7 separate regions of the Homo sapiens genome follow, and all the other regions are linked to region 4. The links are contacts of gene promoters, found by promoter capture Hi-C in blood cells and fetal thymus (Javierre and others, 2016). All regions are on one chromosome and are shown on one strand. The core of a region is centred on a gene start or on the middle of the fragment in contact, and the rest is flanking DNA. Distances in the headings are between cores, read along the strand shown. Region 1 overlaps LOC124902380 (a long non-coding RNA gene). Region 2 overlaps FAM107B (family with sequence similarity 107 member B). Region 3 overlaps FAM107B (family with sequence similarity 107 member B). Region 4 holds the start of MEIG1 (meiosis/spermiogenesis associated 1). Region 5 has its middle 71 kb from the start of MIR1265. Region 6 overlaps FAM107B (family with sequence similarity 107 member B). Region 7 overlaps FAM107B (family with sequence similarity 107 member B).

Evidence for each region. The method cuts DNA at HindIII sites, captures the fragments that hold promoters and counts their contacts. A CHiCAGO score of 5 or more calls a contact.
Region 1: a contact is called between a fragment that was not itself captured here and the fragment with the promoter of MEIG1 in region 4, in 6 of 17 cell types (neutrophils, M0 macrophages, endothelial precursors and 3 more). The highest score is 8.0, in neutrophils.
Region 2: a fragment that was not itself captured here is called in contact with the fragment with the promoter of MEIG1 in region 4 in 8 of 17 cell types (fetal thymus, naive CD4 T cells, neutrophils and 5 more); the score reaches 7.5 in fetal thymus.
Region 3: a contact is called between a fragment that was not itself captured here and the fragment with the promoter of MEIG1 in region 4, in 2 of 17 cell types (naive B cells and monocytes). The highest score is 5.9, in naive B cells.
Region 5: a fragment that was not itself captured here is called in contact with the fragment with the promoter of MEIG1 in region 4 in 15 of 17 cell types (naive B cells, monocytes, naive CD8 T cells and 12 more); the score reaches 13.2 in naive B cells.
Region 6: a contact is called between a fragment that was not itself captured here and the fragment with the promoter of MEIG1 in region 4, in 10 of 17 cell types (monocytes, naive B cells, total CD8 T cells and 7 more). The highest score is 10.6, in monocytes.
Region 7: a fragment that was not itself captured here is called in contact with the fragment with the promoter of MEIG1 in region 4 in 14 of 17 cell types (naive B cells, monocytes, activated CD4 T cells and 11 more); the score reaches 14.5 in naive B cells.

What each region holds. Positions count from the first base shown.
Region 1 is chr10:14,487,757-14,490,660 of GRCh38, forward strand. It overlaps LOC124902380 (a long non-coding RNA gene), which reads left to right. Exons shown (of 2, transcript XR_007062062.1): 2 at 1-719. Among named protein-coding and RNA genes, the nearest start is that of MIR1265, 53 kb to the left of the region's middle. The HindIII fragment of the contact is 1,593 bases long and covers 468-2,060 here.
Region 2 is chr10:14,566,971-14,570,220 of GRCh38, forward strand. All of the region lies in intron 2 of FAM107B (family with sequence similarity 107 member B), which reads right to left. Among named protein-coding and RNA genes, the nearest start is that of MIR1265, 130 kb to the left of the region's middle. The HindIII fragment of the contact is 2,251 bases long and covers 812-3,062 here.
Region 3 is chr10:14,595,840-14,598,648 of GRCh38, forward strand. The region is part of intron 2 of FAM107B (family with sequence similarity 107 member B); the gene reads right to left. Among named protein-coding and RNA genes, the nearest start is that of MIR1265, 160 kb to the left of the region's middle. RefSeq lists enhancers at 1-190, 191-691. The HindIII fragment of the contact is 410 bases long and covers 1,155-1,564 here.
Region 4 is chr10:14,957,952-14,960,816 of GRCh38, forward strand. MEIG1 (meiosis/spermiogenesis associated 1) reads left to right here and starts at 1,437. Exons shown (of 3, transcript NM_001080836.3): 1 at 1,437-1,606. RefSeq lists a silencer at 1,660-1,709. The HindIII fragment of the contact is 3,683 bases long and covers 1-2,411 here.
Region 5 is chr10:14,505,900-14,509,094 of GRCh38, forward strand. No RefSeq gene overlaps it. Among named protein-coding and RNA genes, the nearest start is that of MIR1265, 71 kb to the left of the region's middle. RefSeq lists enhancers at 756-2,027, 1,273-1,332. The HindIII fragment of the contact is 2,781 bases long and covers 1-2,746 here.
Region 6 is chr10:14,545,199-14,548,288 of GRCh38, forward strand. The region is part of intron 2 of FAM107B (family with sequence similarity 107 member B); the gene reads right to left. Among named protein-coding and RNA genes, the nearest start is that of MIR1265, 110 kb to the left of the region's middle. The HindIII fragment of the contact is 977 bases long and covers 1,353-2,329 here.
Region 7 is chr10:14,523,410-14,526,352 of GRCh38, forward strand. The region is part of intron 3 of FAM107B (family with sequence similarity 107 member B); the gene reads right to left. Among named protein-coding and RNA genes, the nearest start is that of MIR1265, 88 kb to the left of the region's middle. The HindIII fragment of the contact is 9,482 bases long and covers 1-2,943 here.

The DNA.
Region 1 (2,904 bases), core at 14-2,513, 470 kb before region 4:
CGCATAGTACTGGCAAAGAGCCCAGCTGAGCTGAAGCAGGAACACTATGAGCAGCTTTTCTCAGGTTTGCAACTTCGGGGGAAATGGCAATTCCTTAAAGGCAGCTGCCCGGCCAGCAGCAATGATAAGATGCCAGCGATTATAGAATGCACCCCAGTTTCAAAGTTGCTAATGTGAAACATCATGCTTCTAAGAATCAACAAAATATAGTAATGTACTCACTTTGTCTATTATCTAGCTGCCTCTACTAGTTAGCAAGCTCTGTGATGATGACAGTAAACTTGGTGTATCTACTGATACCTCACCAGTGCCTATAACAGGACTTGGCCCATAGTACCGAGAACTGGAGAATGACCACAGTTCCATGTTTTCTTATAAACAACTAGTCAAGTTTTGACACTGTAAGAAAACAAGAGACCTCCAATCAAGTGAATGGACCCGCTTCTGGCTAAGGGAATCTCAGAAAAAGCTTAAAAACGAAGTTCCTGGCCATGACGGAAGAGGAGGTCAGACACATCTTGTCATACCCCTTCCCTTTTGTGGTTTAGCTACAACAACTGACCAGCATTCATGTTAAAATAGAAATCATCAGACTGATGGGATACGGATGCTTTGTGGCCATAAGATACCAAATTATGAACAGGACCTAAAGCCTTGCCAGGCAAGGGTTAAGCCACACACCCTACACTTTAAAAGAATAAACTATGTTCTAACGGCCACAAGGTTTCATTTTTCTCTAGCAGCTAAACAAACACTGGCCTTGACATAAGCAATATGAAAACAATTGCAGCCAGGTGCAGTGGCTCACACCTGTAATCCCAGCACTTTGGGAGGCAGAGGCGGGCAGATCGCCTGAGGTCAGGAGCTCGAGACCAGCCTGGTCAACATGGCAAAACCCCGTCTCTACTAAAAATACAAAAATTAGCCAGGCGTGGTGGCGGGCACCTGTAATCCCAGCTACCCAGGAGGCTGAGGCAGGAGAGTCGCTGGAACCCAGGAGGCAGAGGCTGCAGTGAGCCAAGATCGCGCCACTGCACTCCTGCCTGGGCAACAAGAGCGAGACTCCATCTAAAAAAAAAAAAATTTGCAGCTCGTGTACTTCCAGATGCTGATTAACTGACCCCCATCCCACCAGCCATCACTACAGCTTTGATTGGAGAAGAGACTGATTTCAGTAACTTTGTCCTGATCAGAGGCTGCTGACCGTAGACTGGTTGTGGCCAGTTTACAGAGGCTGTGCACTCAGTGCCAGAGGGAAGCTAGGGAGGAGGGAAGGAAGGAAGGAAAGAAGGGAGGGAGGGAGGGAGGGAGGGAAAGGTTTACTACCTATACACAGTAAGAAGTCCACTCACTGATGCAATTGGATCTTGGTGTCCCTGCTTCACCTTTTGATGTATAGGGTCTAACTTGAATACACTTAAATGTTAAGTCTCTGCCCCAAAGTGAACATGGAATACATGTAACGTGCATGTTTGCTTATCATGCATGTGCCCTCACTTTGTGATAATGCTTAGCTTTTCCTGTAATCTGTAGACCAACCCATTCAACATAAATTCCTGTTTCATTTCCTCCAAGTGCTTGCCTTGGGGTTGATAATATTATTTTTCAGTCTTATACGCTATTTCCACTGAATAGCATATTAGGCTGTGCTTCCCAGCCAGTCAAGATGACCACCTTGCAGGCTATAACCCTTTATAATAAATAAGATCTCCTTTCCAAATGTATAGATTGGGTGATTTTTAAGTTGACAGTATGCAATCGACTGTTTTTTAAGTGAATGCACAGATGAGACAGGATTTCACACCTGCCCTGTATAGCTGGAAAGCCAGGATCTCCCACTGCCTCTGTGGCACATGGCATTTCTTTCCAGATTGGAAGGCAATTGCATGTCATAGTCACTCTGCTTTGCTCCCTGACCCTTTGGCTGGCTGAAAGCCTCTTTTCCAGTAAAAGAGGGAACAGTGGCCTGACACATGTCATCCAAAAGATGATTGATGATTTTCTAGGCTGCTATGGGGTTTTTAGCAAATTCTTGTAGAATCAAGTGTGAAGGCCACAGAAGCTTCAGCCACAACACTCTTGTCTTTATAAATCAAAACAAGAGCAGAAGAAAGAATTAAAGGACAAAGGAAAAGGAAAGAGAAGGAGGGAAGGAAGGAAGGAAGGAAGGAGGGAAGGAGGGAGGGAGGGAGGGAAGGAAGGAAAAGGAAAGGAAAGGAAGAGGAAGGGAAGGAGGGAGGGAAGGAAAGGAAGGAAAGAAAGGAAAAGAAAGGAAAGGAAAGAAGAGTTACTACCTATACACAGTAAGAAGTACACTTGCTGATGCAATTGGATCTTGGTTTGATGGGTTCATGAGGAGGCAAAGATGTTAATTCCCGGGGCACTTGGATGTTTCAGAAGCCAAGGAAGTTCTCAAGCAACCCAGGAAGAGCTGCAACCCTCATCAGGAAAAATTATCCAGGCTCTCAACCTCCTGGGCTTCCGAGGCATATATCTGTGCCTGCCTGTCCCCAAATGGTATGCCTGGAGTGTGGGAAGACGGGCTTCAGAATTATTCAATTTAATAAACAGCTAAACAAAAAGGAAAAGGGAAAAAATATTTCTCACTGGCTGCACATTGCTTTAAATCCTTGTTCTTGTGGTTTATATTTTATGGAAATCTGTGTTTGGGAAAACACAAGGAGTGTCCTCCATGAACAGATACTGTTTTTCTTCTATACTCATGACACAAAAATTTGTTTCTACAGCCATCATGGGAGGTGCTCCTAGTACCTCCTTCAGATCTAATGCAGGTGTTTGAAGCCTAATGATGCAGGACATCTGTTTTAATTACCTTTACAGCTGTCCAAACTCACCTGTTATACAGTATGCACATTTCACTTTAATAATGATATGTATAATGTG
Region 2 (3,250 bases), core at 687-3,186, 390 kb before region 4:
AAAACCCCGTATCCACTAAAAAATACAAAAAAATTAGCCAGGCATGGTGGCGGACGCCTGTAGTCCCAGCTACTTTGGAGGCTGAGGCAGGAGAATGGTGTGAACCCAGGAGGCGGAGCTTGCAGTGAGCCAAGATCGTGCCACTGCACTCCAGCCTGGGTGACAGAGCGAGACTCTGTCTCAAATTAAATAAATAAATAAATAAAAATAAATAAATTGGAGGTGGGAGAGAATGGTGGTGCAGAAATGGATTTCTAGAGAATAAATAAGATTCCTCTTTCACTATAAACAGAAAAATGAGAAAAGTACAGGCCCAAGAGCAGGCGGATTTGCAAAGGGGCAGTGGGAAGGTCAGAGAATGGCCTTCGCACGACTGTCCCGTGAGCTGTGGAAAGATAATCTGCCGAGAGTGAAATGAGAGGAGGAGGGATGGGCTCAGTATGAACCTAGAGATTTAAGAAGTGTGGAGGAGGTTGGAAAAGTCATTATGGAGAGGAAGAGGGTTGATGAGGAAAATTTGATTTCCAGGCAGTGTTGAGGCCCTGGTGAGGCAGAGATCAGGATCATAGAGAGGCAACTGTGTAACTTTCTCTGGCAGAACTCAGAAGTCCAGGGACAGGCATGGGTGGGCCGCCCAATCCCCCAGGAGAGTGAAGTAAGGGATTCCAGTGCGTTGACAAGCGCATCGCTGAAATGTTGGAATTCAAAAGCAGAGGCAAAGTCCAGCAGGAGCAGAGGGGTTGGAAAGGGACCTGGAATGGGAAAAATCTGATGTTCTTATTGTAATCTGTCAGCTGAGCTGAAGGACAGAAGCTTCTGGTGAGTAGGATCTCTGGATTTCAGCTCAGAAGCGGTTCCTGGTATTAACAGTGTCTTTTTAGGGTAACCTCCTCCTCCTAGTTTGAGCACTGAAAGTCCTGCGTCCTGTGAAACTCCTTAGTCCTCAGACTGAACATCCCCATCCCAAAAAGCTCCTGCTGCCACTCCAGTCTCAGGCAAACCAGGCTGCTGGTCACTCAGCTCCGGCTGCCATGGAGTCCCCGGTGAGCTTTGACAAATACTGACCCCTGCAGCAGATGACTGTGAGCCAGGGGCCAAAACTTTCAAGGAACGAATGAGGAGCTACGACCACGAAATGCTAGCACTGAGGGTAGAGGACAGAATACGACTGAGACAAGGCTCAAAGCAGCAGCGAGGGGAAGGGTCATGACCCAAAAGTGGCCATGAGGGCAGGAACCTAAGCCCTGCCTCCAGATCCCAAGGCACATACAGGGTGGGAGAAGGTGCACTCCCATTCCCAAGGGAGCCAAGGCAGCACTGAACTCGGAGAGTGGCTCTCGGTTAGACCAGGAGGTGAAGATACTGGGGGAGGAGGAGGCTGGCTGATGATCCCAGGGTTAGACCAGGAGGTGAAGATACTGGAGGAGAAGGCTGGCTGATGATCCCAGGGTTAGACGAGGAGGTGAAGATACTCAGGTAAGAGGAGGCTGGCTGATGATCCCAGGGTTAGACCAGGAGGTGAAGATACTCAGGTAAGAGGAGGCTGGCTGATGATCTCAGGGTTAGACCAGGAGGTGAAGATACTCAGGTAAGAGGAGGCTGGCTGATGATCTCAGGGTTAGACCAGGAGGTGAAGATACTCAGGTAGGAGGAGGGTGGCTGATCTCTGGGTTAGACCAGGAGGTGAAGATACTCGGGTAGGAGAAGGGTGGCTGATCTCTGGGTTAGACCAGGAGGTGAAGATACTGGGGAAGGAGGCAGCATGGGAGCTGGCTGATCCCAAGGCAGGAGCACAGCACCTGGTGGAAGAGGCTGGAGGGGAAGGGAGAGAGGGTGGGGTGGAAGGGGGAGGCAAAGAGCAGTCCCAGGAACCTGGAAGGAGGGGGAGAGACAGGGCATGAAGGTGGGATCCTAAATCCCAGAATCGTCGGCAACATAATAAATGGCAACACCAGGAGAGCTGGCATCTGACGATGTCTGTGGGACACAGTGCATAGGTAGATTTTAACACACTGAGATTGCTATTTGGTATAATGACATGTTTATCCTGAAGAAATGAAGTTAGGAATTTTCTGAGCTACAGAATGAATTTTTTGGTTCTCATCGAAAGGTCTGTTGCTCTTGGAACTCAATTCTCAAAGGTCTGTTTCACAAATAATCATCCTCGTTCTGATGTTTATTCAAATCTTTGCCCACCCTCGAGTCTCCTTAAATTCCTCATATTCCACAAATGATGTGTGTTATCTGAATCCAGAAAACCCTCATGGGTTTGCAGATATAACTGCCAACAACTGATATAGAAATAGAGAGTGTAGAAAATATTTCTTGACAATAAAAGTCAGAAGGAAGATTCGAGTTATCCTATCCCCATGAAAGGAAGGGGAGGGTACATGTTGTGTTGTGGTGAGCTGCAGTTTGCATTGTGCACATATGTGTGTGTGTGTGCATGCATGCATGCACACATGTGTTACGTTAAGATCATAACATGTGGTGATCTAAGTCCTCCGGAAGCTAGACAGACTCAACATATTGTTCCAGCAAAAACTTTAGCATCATTTAGAAAAAAATATAGCAGAAAAAAATTCCTCAACTCAAGAACAACACAGGTACTTCTGTTCAGTGTAACCTTCCTCTCAAGTTTTGGGAAAGATGGAAATAGGCCAGGACTGGAGGGGTGGAGCCCTCACACAGTCAGCTCACAGGTCAGCAGAAGTGACAGGTACTCCAGACTTAAGACCTTGAGGGAAACCAAGGTTCCTCTGTCTCTTCTCTGAAATAATCAAGTTCTTTCTTCCCTTCTCCCTCCTCAATGCAAGGCCGTGCTTCCCCAAACAAGATCTGGGACTCTCGCGCCTACTGAGATGGACAGAGAGCTTCACAGGTGTCAACAGTTTCAAGAACCTTGGCCAGCCTCAGCCAACAGCCAACCAGGCAGGCTGGGCGAGCCCAGAGGTTCCCGGAAACCAGAAACTAGGGCAGAAACACCCAGCAACTCAGTCGCTTTTCTAAAACAGAGCTACCAATAAATATATAAATCACTGTCATGAGCCATAGAAAGGGAAAGCTTTTATAAATTAAAGCATCCAAATATTAAGCCAATATTACTTAGGATTGCATTTATCATTGCTACAGAAAAAAACTGTATGTAAATAAATGTGAATGCATACAAGGTAATTGAGTGTCCTATGTTAATATAAGGGTAGCCCATATTTTTTCTGAAATGAAACGACATTGAAAACGTACCTACCAA
Region 3 (2,809 bases), core at 110-2,609, 360 kb before region 4:
TATCAACTCCAATCCATCTCACCAGCGGCACCCCGGCTGGTCTCCCTGCTTCTATTCCTGGCCCTCTGCAGTCCCCGTGGCCCTCCACAACCACAGGGACACACTGACAAAATACAAGGTCCATCTCCTGCACGCCCTGCTCAGAACTCTCCTGTGGCTTCCTCATGAGCCACGTCCTCACCGTGGCCTGCCAGACCTCCTTGGACCCCACTGCACAGCTCTCTTCCTGCCCTGGCCGCTGGCTCCTCCCACACAGGCCCTCTGGCCATTCCTTCCATAGCAAGCTCCTGCCAGCCACTGGGCTGATATTTGCACTTGTTTCTGCGAGGCTCATCCCCTTGCCTCACTCAGATCTCAAATTCTCCTCCTCGGAGGAGCCTCATCCTAATAAAAACACAACCTGCTCTCCCACCAGACTCCAGCCCCCTGAACTGACTTAGTTGTCTTTACAGCACTGACCATGGGAATCACCTCATCCATGTATCTGTTTACCTTCTGTCATGCACTAGCATATAAACTCCATGCAGGCAGGGAGTCTGTCTGTCCCAGCCACCATGCTAGCCCGTGATCCCACTGATCCCCAGAGCCTGGAACGATGACTGGCATATGGCAGCATTCATTAAATAGTTGCTGAATGAATGAAGAAATGTCATAAAGAACTTGACACCATGCCTGGTCACATATAAGATGATTAAAAACTGTTCATTGATGATAATAATAATATTACCAGTATTATTACTGCATTTCACAGGTAAGAATATGCAAACCCCAAGAGGGCAACTGACTCACTCAGGTCAAACTCTACGTCTGATGTCTATGACTTCTATGACACCTCCCATTCCATGGGCACAGAATAACAGAATTCACCCACCGCAGCAGGAACCTGAAAGATGATGTAGCTGATTCTCTTGCACACCCGACGCCCTGCCTCCTCTCACCTTCTAAGAGTCACCTATCCTAAGGGGTGGCCCACATGCTGTTCCAATTCCAGAGCATTCCCTAGAAGGACAAGCAGGCATAAAGAATGCAGGCTTCTATCTCACCCTAAGACAACTCTAAGAAGTAGGTGAGTGTGACTATTTCCATTTTATAGAAGACGACGCTGGGAAACAGAAATAATGACATGCTCAAAAGTCATATACTCATTCATGGCAAGCTTAGGCTTAAAAGTCTGAAAATCTTTCAAGTCTAGGCCTCTCTCTTTCCGATACACTACTTTACCCTGCACATCCACTAAAAAAAGAAAAAATGAAAAAGAACCCTGACCAGTTTTATGTGTTTCAAATAGAATCAAGTTACAAGGGAAAGAATATTATGAAGCCCCCTCTACATACGCATATGCACAAATGGCATTCTCAACTTCCTCCAGGACATGGGAATTTTGATACATCTACATTAAACACTCACAAACCACCTGTGATTATTTATACTGCAAGATTTCATAAGACTGTACAATTTTTGTAAACTCATTAGCATTCACCAGATACCTTAAAACTTGGATAAAGCGTGAGTTTTAACTTTCACAAAGTATGCTCTGTCCCATATATTAATAATGGCACAGAAAAGCTTATACCACAGTAATGACAGCCCTCTTTCCTATACACTTTACTATGACACTTTAGGAACAATGCCAAAACTCTTGTCCAAGAATGGAATAAAACAGGCTATTTCTAATATGAAAACCCAGTTATCTTTAAAACTCTCCTGAAGGCATGAAGAGATACTGAGGAGCAGGTGGGGACAAGGGACAAAGCTCCCATCCTCCAAGTGTCCCTGTGTCCGCATCTTGACATCACTGCCGGCTGCATTACTAACACTCTGAGTTGAGGCCAGGCACGGTGGCTCACACCTGTAATCCCAGCACTTTGGGAGAGGATTGGCAGGCGGATCATTTGAGGTCAGGAGTTCAAGACCAGCCTGGCCAATATGGTGAAACCCCATTTCTACTAAAAATACAAAAGTGAGCCAGGCGTGGTGGCACATGCCTGTAATCCCAGCTACTCAGGAGGCTGAGGCAGGAGAATCGCTTGAACCCAGGAGGTGGAGGTTGCAGTGAGCCGAGATGGCACCACTGCACTCCAGCCTGGGTGACAGAGTGAGACTCTGTCTCAAAAAGACAAAATAATAAAAAAAAACTCCGAGTTGAAATGTCTAAGTCCTTAGCCCATTTTTTAGTTGGGTTCTTCATTTTTTTACTGTTGATTTGCGGAAATCCCTTAAACTTCTCAGATATTAACCCCTTATTGGATATGTAGTTTGCCAACATTTTTCCCCATTCCACAGGTTGCCTTTTCACTCCGTTGACTGTTTCCTTTGCTGTGCAGAAGCTTTTTAGTTCGATGCAATCTGGTTTAGTTTTGGGTTTGTTGACTGTGCTTTTAGCGTGGCAGCCGCGTAATTACTGCCAAGACCAGTGTCCTGAACCTCTTCCCCTATGTTTTCTTCTAGGAGTTTTGTGGAACCAGCTTAACCATCAAGGACAGATGAATGGGTAAACACATGTGGTAATATACATACAGTGGAATACCAGGCAGCCTTAGAAAAGAAGCAGTTCCGCCACAAGCACGAGCATGCATGAACCTGGAGGACCAAGTGAAAGAAGCCAGGCACAGAAGGACAAATACCATGTGACTCCTCTTAGATGAAGCATCTAAGTAGCTAAACTCATAGACTTGAAGAGTGGAATGGTGGTTGTCAGGGACTGCAGTGGGGGAAAATGGGGAGTTACCAATCAATGGGCCCAAGGTTTCAGTTCAGCAAGAGGAATAAGCTCTAGAGAGCTGCCCTACAACACTGCACCTGCAGTCAA
Region 4 (2,865 bases), core at 187-2,686:
TAGGTTTTAAACAGATTGCATTGACTGTTGTGTTGACAACAGACTACAGAGGGGGCATAGAGAGCTGTTGGGAACGGTTGTAATTACCAGAAAAAAGAAAAATTATGATGGCTTGAGTAGAAGCTATAAAGTCAGCAGGTTGCATTGATGGATATGGAAAGAGAGGGCTCTAGGCCACATCTACTAAAAGACATGAAGAAGGAGCAGGGTTTTTGTTTTTGTTTTGGCAGGGAGGTGTTTGGGGAGGTTGTTTTGTACAATCAAGTGGATGTTGAATATACATTGATATACAAATCTAAAGTTCAGAGAAAGACCGGGCTGAAGAGAGAAATTTGGGAGTTGTAAGTAAATAGTTTTTTGTTTTTAGTTTTACTAAGTATTGCCTTTGTTTTAGTATGACTCGTTTATTTAGAAGTTTATATAATTTAATTTGTGATATGTCTTGTGTTTTTGTTTTGTTTGGGGCAGGTGCCCGAGGCCCTTGTCATCTTCATTGACTCCAGCTCATGGCTTGTATTTAACAACGAGCTCAGAAAAATTCCTAAAAATTTAATTACTGAGTCTCCAGAGCTCTAATGAGCTGGCTCCAGCACACAATTGCTCCTTTCTTTCATTCAACAATTTGACAAGTCCTGATGGCTCTACATTCAAAACATGTAAATTGGCCGGGCGCGGTGGCTCACGCCTGTAATCCCAGCTCTTTGGGAGGCCGAGGCGGGTGGATGACGAGGTCAGGAGATCGAGATCATCCTGGCTAACACGGTGAAACCCCGTCTCTACTAAAAATACAAAAAATTAGCCAGGCGTGGTGGTGGGTGCCTGTAGTCCCAGCTACTCGGGAGGCTGAGGCAGGAGAATGGCGTGAACCCGGGAGGCGGAGCTTGCAGTGAGCCGAGATAGCACCACTGCACTCCAGCCTGGGCGACGGAGCGAGACTCCGTCTAAAAAAAAACAAAAACAAAAAAACAAAAAACCGTATATCTTGAATCTGATCACTTTTCGCTTAGATAGTACTGTAATATAGTAATAGATAATGCTAGAAAAAATAATTAAAGCTATAGATATCATCTATTGTAGGTTTACTGATTGTCAGGCACTATGGCGACTCTCTGGAATGGTTCATTCCTCGCAAATGAATAGATAGGAGATATCTACTATCAGGAACTACAAACACAGTCTCCGTGCTGTGATCCGCTTTCACAGGGAATTTTGTCTGGGATTCAAGTAGCGGCAAGTAACCCTTTTTCGCCCTCCATCTCTGCTCAGGGGTGAGCCCTGGCAGCGCTCCTACCTGGGACCTACATTGGCTTAGTAAGATGGGCCGGCGCCCACCCCAGCCCTCGCGCATGCGCATAAAAGCCCACTCCCGGGGGCGGGGCCTGAGCTAGCTGGGCGGGGCCTGAAGGAGCCGGGAGCTCCTGCAGCTTCATCGCGTTACTAAGAGACGCGAGGGTCGCGAAGGGCACAACACTTGGCCTCTCGCTGGCCCTGCTCGCGGATCCCGAGTAGAGAACGCAAGCACCCACGCCCGCCTGCAAGCTCCCGGGCGCCCCCGGCCTCTCCTGCTCGGCGGAACGAGGATAACCCAGTAGAGCCGGACCCAGGGGTGGGTGGATGCGTCGCTGGAGGCGAGGGCCCTGCCCGCCAACCCCTGCGCCCCGGCCGTAGCCCCACCCCGGAAGTTCTTGCCCCGCCTTCTCGGCTCCGCAGTTCTCTGCTGTCTCCTGAGGTTTGCCAGGGAGATCCCGTGGTTTTCATGTCTCTTCCGTGATTTTTAGGGAAGAGGGTCACTATTTGGCCCTTCCAGAATCTCAGGGTCCGGTTCTCCCGGAAGTTTCCGGGCCGCCCCGGACCCCATTGGCTTTAGGGGCCGCGTCTCCGAGGGCTCCGATTTGGGCCCTAGATTTTGGAATACTGTGTTTTGTCCGTCCCAGCCTTCACCAGGCGGATTTCATCTCCCACACAGTTAGTGATTTATGGCAGAAAGGAAGCTGGAGGGATGGGGACTGCAGGTTAGCTGTGAGGGCCGGAAGGGAGCGGTTTTGTGCTGCACACAGGCAGGTCAGCACTCCCAGAGCAGGGACCGCCGGGCGTGCTTTCGGAACCGCTTTTGTCTTTCAAATGAACGCCCAGCGACAGCAGACGGGAGTTCCAGGACCTTAGAGACCGGCTAATGCTTCTCTTTAAGTTAGGAAACAGGCGCAGGCGTGTTCATGGCCTTGCCTAAGGTTACGTGCTGGTTACAGGGCTCCTCCTGCTGCCTCTTAAGAACAGAAATAATCTAATAGGAGGAATAAAAGGGACTATTAGGGAGGCTAATGCTCTTGAAGTTTTAATACTACTAAAAGTAAAAGCGCTTTTCAGAGTGAAAGGGAAGTGAAAAGGGAATTTGGGTGGCTGGCTACATCAGAAGCTTCTGTTCCAACTTTAGATTGTCAGGGAGTTGAGATGGTGTTTTTTGTTTTTATTTTTGTTTTAGTTTTTTGAGACGGAGTCTCGCTCTGTAGCCCAGGCTGGAGTGCAGTGGCGGGATCTCGGCTCACTGCAAGCTCCGCCTCCCGGGTTCACGCCATTCTCCTGCCTCAGCCTCCCGAGTAGCTGGGACCACAGGTGCCCGCCACGATGCCCGGCTAATTTTTTGTATTTTTAGTAGAGACGGGGTTTCACTTTGTTGGCCAGGATGGTCTCGATCTCCTGACCTCGTGATCCACCCGCCTCGGTCTCCCAAAGTGCTGGGATTATAGGAGTGAGCCACCGCGCCGAGATGGTGTGTTTTTAAAATAACGTGCCCGAGGCCGGGCGTGGTGGCTCACCCCTGTAATCCCAGCACTTTGGGAGGCTGAGGCAGGCGGATCACCTGAGGTC
Region 5 (3,195 bases), core at 106-2,605, 450 kb before region 4:
CATGAGTTAACTAAGCACAAAGGGGAGAATGAGAACTTTGAGGAAAGGCAGTTGGTAGGTGGGAAAGCCCTGGAGCAGAGAGGAGGCTGGTAAGTCTGGAACAAGGAGAACAAAGGCAGAGGTACAAGAGGAGTTGGCGATGCAAGCAGGGGCCAGAGCATGATGGGCCTGGAGGCCATGTTAAGGATTTTGGTCTTTGCCCTAAAATCAATGGGAAGTCTTCAAGCAAGGGAGGAACACAGTCAGATTTGCCTTTGCTAAAGATCATTTGGACTTCTTTGGAGAGCACAAAGCAGACTGAGGCAAAAGTGACAGGAGGACCCACCAGGAAGCTGCTGTTCTAAAATGGGTAGTGGGATTGCAGAGGAGTGGAGAAATTCACTGGATATTTACAAGGTAGAGTGGAAAGAACTCCATTGGATATGGAGGGTGAGGCTGGGTCAAAGATGACTCCCAAATTTCCAAATTACAGGACTGGATGGAAAGTGGTGCCATTTACGAAGACTGGGACTGTGGATGAGGGCGAAATTTTGGAGGAGAAGGCCTTCAGTTCAGTTACAGTAGTCTACCTTAATATGCGATTTCACTTTACATGGCTTGACTGTTACCCACAGTCAACCACGGTTCGAAAATATTCAATGGAAAATTCCAGAAATAAACAATTCATAAGTTTTTAATCACAGGGCATTCAGAATAGTGTGATGAAATCTCACCCCATCCCACCCAGGATGGGAATCTTCCCTTTGTCCAGGATATCCACGAGGTCTACACTACTGGTCCATTAGTCACTCAGTAGCCATCTTGGTTATCAGATGGAAGAAACATAATATATAAAGGGTTTGGTACTATCCATGGTTTCAGGCACCCAATGAGAGTCTTGGAATTTACCCCCAAGGAGAAGCAGGGACCACTGTACTTAACTTTGGTGACCTTCAGTTCCCTCTCCTCTATAGTAGAGATGACAACAGGGTTCCCCCCATAGGAATATGGTGAGAATTCCATTAGATCCCAAATGTTAAGCACTGAGCATGGTGCCTGGCACATGGAGAGCAGCAATGGCTGGAGACTAATGTTCTGCTCATCAGCCATTAGGTGCAGAGGCACCTGTTTTCACAGCTCCCTGCCCTTCTCTTTGTACCACTCACTACAGTTGTCATTTTACATGCATTTCTGTGATTCTTTGAATAATATTTGTCTCCTCACTCCATTTTAAGCTCCAAAAAGGCAGAGGCTGATATGATTTTGCTCAGCATTGTATTCCCAATGCTGGGCATTGTGATGAAAATGGATAAACACACAGCCTGAGCAGGAAACACACACTTCCCCAGAGCCCCATTCATTCCTGCAACCAGGTACCCGCAGCAGGTGCATGGGGACAGCCAGCCATTTCGTTGTTATTGACTACGCCACAGCAAACCACACAGGTCTTCAGATTTCAATGCTAGGACGCAAATCAAAACTCACCCATAGCCTAACCTCAAGCACCTCAGGAAGTTCTTTGGATATAAACGACAGGTGTTTCCTAGCAACACTGCAAGCAGTTGTGCATCGGGGAGGCAGCAGGCTTATTTGCTGTTCCCACTTCCTGCTCTCCCTCTCCCCAGTGTCCTATTACTGCTACTCACAAAAAACCTGGCTTTTCAAACTGTTCAGTCATATTTTTTTGAAGAACAGTCTGGGAAGCACAGAGGAAGATCAAGAAGAAATAAAATTTACATTTAATTTAAAACATCATTTGAACCATTAATTTCCACGGCTTCCCTCGGAGAACATTAATACGAACATCTATCTAACAATAAAACCATTTGATTTAGTGTGTGTATTTTCTTTTCTTAATTTGCTCCTATAGTTCTTATCTTCGAAGTATTCATGTGGCATTTTATTTCATGTCTTATTATTTATTACATCTTATGCAATGTCTCATCTCTGAACAAGATTATAAACACCTCCAGTGCTGGAACTAGCTCCTAGCGAGATATCTTGTCAACATATTCAGTAAGCACGTGTGCCTAATTGATCTGACCGCTTATCTCTGAGAAACACTGAAATCACTGAGGAAGGAAAAGGGAATGGAAAGAAAGAGAGCAAACTCCAGCAAGTTCCCCTAGAGAGCAAAGCACCAACTCACTGAATTAAAGCCACATTGCAGCAGCTAGAATATTCCCTTCATGCATGTGACTTTGCACAGTGAATTTTTCTTCGTTGAGCTTATAGGCTGGCTATCAGCTCTAATGGAGGATCCTCCAAACCCTGATTCTGGTTCACAGCCTGTTGTGTAAGGTATTTCCCTCCTGGGTGGCATTTTTTTTTTTCTTTTTTGAGACAGAGTCCTGCTCTGTCACCAAGGCTGGAGTGCAGTAGCGCAATCTCAGCTCACTGCAATCTCTGCCGCCCAGGTTCAAGCGATTCTCCTGCCTCAGCCTCCAGAAGTAGCTGGGATTACAGGCACGCACCATCACACCCTGCTAATTTTTGTATTTTTAGCAGAGATGGGGTTTCCCCATGTTGGCCAGGCTGGTCTTGAACTCCTGACCTCAAGTGTTCTGCCCGCCTCAGCCTCCCAAAGTGCTGGGATTACAGGCGTTGAGTCACTGTGCCCAGCCTCACAGTAAATGTTTTTAATCATGCTACTTTCACTGTTTGTTGGCACCTGGCTAACACAGGTGCCATTATTTCCTGGAACCTCTTAAATGAGTAAATAACCACGGACAACCAACCAAGGAGGTCCCCATGAGATTGCACCTCAAGCTTCAACCATGAAGTCACAGCAGGGAAGGCTGCAGCCTCTACTCTCTGCTGCTAATTCTACCCTTAGCCAGCCTCTGTGACGGCTTCTATTAGGCCTCATAAATTAAATCCAAAGAGTCAGCATTTCTCCAGGGCTTGGCTAGCTCCTTTCCTAAGCGTCTATCTCAAGTATTCAACCAGAAGGAGCGGAAAGAGTAATAAATCGACTCTTAGTAATACGATGAAGGCCCCACCTGGTATCAAGGGAGAAGGGAAAGAGAATTCCATCGTCATCCAAGAAAGAACATCTGCCAAGAAGACCTTGACTGGCCAAGCTGGAGCTCTCCCAGGGCCCTGCGCGCACCGAGTAGCAGTATTTCATTACAGAGCTCCCGATTCCTCACTTCCAAGTCGCTTAGACCCCGGCCAATGAAAACAATAGGAGGAAAACCAGAGGGCTGTAACCGC
Region 6 (3,090 bases), core at 591-3,090, 410 kb before region 4:
ATCATGCAGCTAGCTCCAGAGTCCATGCTCTGAGCCACTTTGCTACAGCACCTCTCTATTTTAACTCTCCTATTTGGACGTGTGCTCTTTCTGCTAAATTAATGGCAGGATGCATCCCCCTGTTGTCTGATCACCTTCATAGTGGTTTAGCGCTTCTGTTACAAAGCTATTGATCTGGGGGCTGGGGGTGTCCTGGGCTCTATCACTAACATCCCCATTAATATATCTCTTGATGAATACCTGGTTGACATCTTTGAAGGCTAAAAAAAGATATTTAGATCTAAGTGAACATTAAATACCAGCACACATAAGCAAAAACTTGAATGCCATCAGCAATGACATGCAGCAGATACTGACTAAACACACAAGGCACCTGTTGCCTGCTAGAGGGGAGAGGCCATGTGGCAATCCCATGCACAGCTTCCAAACCACCTGGCCACCATCTTTGAAATTATACAAGTTTTGATTGACTTCTTTTCCTTTTTTGGTTTTTGCATGATTTCAAAATTTGCATGTAACAGAATCCTTATTTATATTATGTTATAGTCACAAAATTAAAATTGGTAAAATAAAGTTATCACACTTAATTCCTAAATTGCAAGTTCCTGAATAAAGAGACCTCCCTTGGAATTTTTCTCCTATGTTATTTTCTGAGGAGAAAACACCTCGGTCATTCATCTCAGGAAACTACAAAGAGGATGGACTGAGAAGATGGTTGATTTCGGCCTAATCATTCCTGAGAGGAAGGAAAATACACAGACCACGAAAAGCTTCCTGCTGGGCTAGCTTTCAAAGCCCTCAAACATTCCTGTCTTCAAGAGCTGACTAATAATTCCGTAATATTTATGACCTGGCCCAACTGGCCAAACAAACTAATACTTTCAAAAGAAGAGACTATCTTCAAACAGACTTAATGACAGAAACTTTAGAAGGAACACAGAGACCAGGTGTTCAACTTCCTCATTATGACAGATGAGGAAACTGAGGCCCAGAGAGATGAAATGACTAAGTTAAGAGAGTGGCAAAGACATTCTGGACCACACAGTGGCAAAGCTCGGACTAGGACCAAGATTGGAGTCTGGTCCACTCTTCACTACCCAACACTGCCTCTCACTTCTGACTGCTTTGCAAATTTTCTAAATTGACTGTCCACATTTTCTACTGATCTGTGGGTGTTTTGGCACCGTGAGTAACACCACCATTAACATTACCTCTGGATCAGTAACTGGATGGCATCTTTGAAGACTAATATGTTTCAACTGTAAGTACACTTTAATAACAGCTCGACAGTTTTATCTGCTTCTATAGCTGATCACGTTTTAAGATAGTACAGTCGTCATGATGATTTTTAAAGCTTCTCAAGCTAGGCGAAAACTACCCATCTGCCTTTTTTAAAATTTGCATTATTACCATTGAGCAGCTACAATGTTTAAAAACCAGTGACTGCTCAGACACGGTTATTTAGACATCCTCTAAGTCCCTACTTCCCACTGCATCTTGCTCCATTAAAACCTATTCCTCAAGCATCAGCATTCAGAATGAAATTAAGTAAGTTGGTGAACAAATTAAATTCAACCCTACCGACCTTCAAAGTAAAGACCAGTCTAATTGACAACCTGACCCCCATATTCCCATCAGAACATAATGAATGCTCAAAAACGGACACAGATGGGCCCACATTACTACCACAAAAATAACCAGATGCCCCCTTTTCTCACCAACATGTATGATTGCAAATTCTTTACTGCATGGCCACTCTAACTCTACTTTAATCTCCTACCTCCTAGATAAAAGTTGTTGGATACCCAATCACTGAATTGTTTCTGCCTCCTGGCCACATCCAACCCAGATCTGGTCCCATTTCCCTAATTCCACCTTCAAATCACCCAGTCCAACAACAACCCCAAGTCTGCCTTTCCAAAATAGTCCCAGGGTTCTTCTGGGTACACTGGCCCCGGCAGAAGCAAGCTAAACGAAGCCAACTTCTGTATAACTACACGTTGTGTTCCTGGTGGGTTTTGGCTGATGAGATTCGACACTGTTGTCTGAAGTCACTAGTAACGTATGGCAGAGTAGAAAGAACCTTAAATAAAAGGTCCACAAACCTAAATCCTGACTTCACTTCTCTGGGTTTGTTTCCTTACTGGTAAAATGACAGCCAGTCATTCTATCATTTTGTAAGTTTTTCATCTCAAATCTCCGTATATTGGCCAAATTGTGGGTCAAACAGGTTTGTTTCTACAGAAGAATATGTTCTAACTTCCAACCACTCACTCACTACAGGTTGAGCATCCCTTATCCGAAACACCAGAAGTGTTTCAGATTTCAAAGCTTTTCCAATTTTAGCATATTTGGAATATTTCTGAGTATCTACACTCTGAAATGCTCCGGTGAGCATTTCCTTTAAGCAGCATGTCAGTGCTCAAAAAATTTTGAATTTTAGAGCATTTCAGATTTCAGATTTGGGATGTTCAGCCTGTATTTCACTTTTGAAATACTGAATTAGTTAAGGGTTTGTCTGGAAAACTTCATTTTTCACTCTTAAAAAGAAAAAAGAGACCTTAATGCCAGAAACAACGGTAACAATGATGTGTTTTTTCTGTAGGCTTAAAATGTTCCATAATTAAAAGAATTTAAGTTGGCTCTTATTTGATTTCTGCTTCCGCAATGAAAACTGAGCGTGAGGACAGGGACACATCTCTGTCTGGGTCTTTGGAGGATTGTCTGTCTCTAACCAAACCCTAGAGAACAGCTATTTCCATGGCCCCGGCCCTTTTAATTAAAGTCTGTTTTCCCACTTCCCTCTCTTCAGACCACCTGGTGGGCTTTCTGTGAACAACCAATACGCAGGCTTCGCAGGGAGGACACCAAAAACAAGAAAGGAGTAAAGCAACAGCTGTCAGCAAGACCAGGACCCACAGCGCTCGCTGGTTGAGTTAACCTGGTTGGCTGAACCAGTTACTATGTCTCCTACGGGGGAGCACAGGGTGGGCCTGAAGATCGAGAGGGGAGCAAGACGTGGTCCAGGAGCTCCCTGCCTGGAGGAGAAGAGAGCAGACGCGACAGACGCACCCGAGGGTCAACAACTGG
Region 7 (2,943 bases), core at 227-2,726, 430 kb before region 4:
ACGCACGCAGGCATGTGGTGGAACAGTAATTCAGGCTTTTCTGAACTGCAGGCAACAAGCACTGCTGACTCTGTCCCGGACTCCAGGATGGGCCTGAGCACCTCCCACACACCTCCTGGTCCGGCTGCTGATGACTGCTAATCTGTAGACAAGGGACAGGGTTGTTCTCTAAACGACTCCTATCAACTACCGTGACTAACCAACTAGGAGTCATCTGAGCAACTGTTAAATAACAATTTCCAATATATGTGCTCCGGCCAGAGAAATTCAACAGCACACTCACCTTGATCCCTTTAAAGTCCACACAATCACATCTGTAAACCAATCCTCAATTGCATACTTCCTCATTCATCTAGAATTTCTAAAAATTCTGGCATCTCTCCTATCTAGATGTTTTTAAAAATCACAAAAACTTAATTCAAAGTTGTTGTTTAGAGTAAAAATCGGTATATTCCATCTTTTTTTTTTTTTTTTTCTGAGACAGGCTCTCTCTGTTGCCCGGGCTGGAGTGCAGCGGCATGATCTCAGCTCACTGAAACCTCTGCCTCCTGGGCCCCAGCGATCCTCCCACCTCAGCCTCCTGAGTAGCTGGGACCACAGGCACATGCCACCACGCCCAGCTCTATTTTTTTTTTTTTTTTTCGTTTTTGAGATACAGTTTTCCTCTTGTTGCCCAGGATGGAGTGCAATGGCACAATCTCGGCTCACTGCAACTTCCTCCTCCCAGGTTCAAGCGATTCTCCTCCCTCAGCCTCCCGAGGAGCTGGGATTACAGGTGCCCGCAACCACGACCGGATAATTTTTTGTATTTTTAGTAGAGACGGGGTTTCACCATGTTGGCCAGGCTGGTCTCGAACTCCTGAGCTCAAGCCGTCTACCTGCCTTGGCCTCCCAAAGTGGTGGGATTATAGGCATCAGCAACCACACCCAGCTAGTATAGTCCATCTTTAATGACAGAGGACACACAGTCAAAATAATATATGTCTCCAATTTCCCAATTTTCATTAGCAGAACTTTCCGTTAAAAAAAATTTGGCCAAATTTCCAGGGAAACAAAAGAGGCAGGTGACTTTTGTGATTTAATTATGGTTTATTTCACAGTTATCAAAACTAAATAAACAACAGGATAAAAAATATGCACAGATTAAATCTTTAATCAGCACAATATAAGTTGCTTAAGAGTACTCTGTTCAAAATAAAGGTGTTATTAACCACAGGAAAAGCTGTTTTTAAGTAATCTGAATAAAGTTTTACTCAGTTTCATGACTATCAAAAAGTCTTGATATAACACTACAGACAGAATTAAGGGGTTTAAATTTTAGGATTAAGAATTTAGCTATCTGAATAATTTAAATTTCAAACATTTTTCTTTCCCTACATTTCACTGGCAAAATTAACTTCAACTATTATTCAATTCTCCTGGATTATGCAAAAGCTGCTGAAGATTTGATGTATGACACATTTGGCTGACACTCTATTGCAACCTATGAATGGGTTTAACTATTACACAGTATTCATTTTCCTTTCAAAGATTTTACACAATAGTGACAGTAAGATAAAATATGTAGTAACAAAAAATTCAGGAAAATGGTGCTTATATGATAAATATTCTCTACTTACAGCAGTCAAGAAGTCATATAAATTTAGTTAATATTTTACCACAGTGGATTACTTAACTTTCTGTGCTGAATGCAAAAAGTCAAGCATTGCCCATGTAAGTCTCTAAGTCTAAATGGAACAGAGATAGTGTCGACAGACAGAAATTAGTTTCTCCAAATGTCATAATTAACTACAATACCATCCCTTGCACAAGAATAGTTGGTTCTCTTTAATCAATTCTGACATATACAGCTAACAAGTACTTTCAACCCCTTTATGACAGTATCACCCACGAGTAACAGTAATTCCCAAGTCGGCTTCTCGGTCAGGTAGCTACCTGTGACTACTGAAGCGGGCAAAGCCAATTTAAAAAACTATAAAATTAATAAGTGCTCTTTGCAGAAAAAGAAAAGTAATATACCCATGTGTTAAATAAAAAGCAAAAGCACATCCAAACCCTCTCCATTAAACGAATCGAGGAGCACCACTCCATCGCAAATGTTCTATGTGAACAGTGGCCCCAAAATTATGCAAAGTAGAGACCCTGTACCCATCAACCCCTACCTATTCCTGCATCCAGAGATAACTCTTACCAACAGTTGGGTCTATGTTCCTCCATACTTTCTATACCCATATAAACATGCCACAATTCTGCCACATCCCTACTGACAGACATCTATTTGGTTTCCAACTGTTCACTATTAAAAACAATGAGGCTCTGAGCCTCTGTGGACATTTATAGCTGCACACTTCTACAAGTATTTCTGTTGGCTAGATTCATAGAAGCGGAGTTGCTGGCTAAGCATCTGCACATCGCATATTTTGATGAGTACTGCCAAAGTGCCCTACAAAAAGGCTGCAATGATTTATATTCCCACCCCCAGAGTATGAAACATACAGACAACTTTGAAAGGTACATTTCACATAAACCACTAAATACATTCAAGGGCAGACGGGGCGAGTCCCCATTCATTCCACATCTACCTGAACTCTGTGTACCTATATATTAATAAGTGAAGTCATTTCATTACCTGGGACAGCATTCATCCAGAGGAAAGGTCTGGGGCTCAGACCGTCACAGAACAATGCCTACTCACTTAGTCAAACATCTCCCGGCCTAATTATTTTTCTTAGGGTACAGGGAAAATTTGATTTGAATTTAGCCCTTGTTCTTTTTTTCCGGGGGGACAGAGTCTCGCTCTATTGCCCATGCTGGAGTGCAGTGGCATGACCTCGGCTCACTGCAACCTCCGCTTCCTGGGTTCAAGCTATTCTCCTGCCTCAGCCTCCCAAGTAGCTGGGACTACAGGCGCGTGCCACCACGCCCAGCTAATTTTTTTGTATT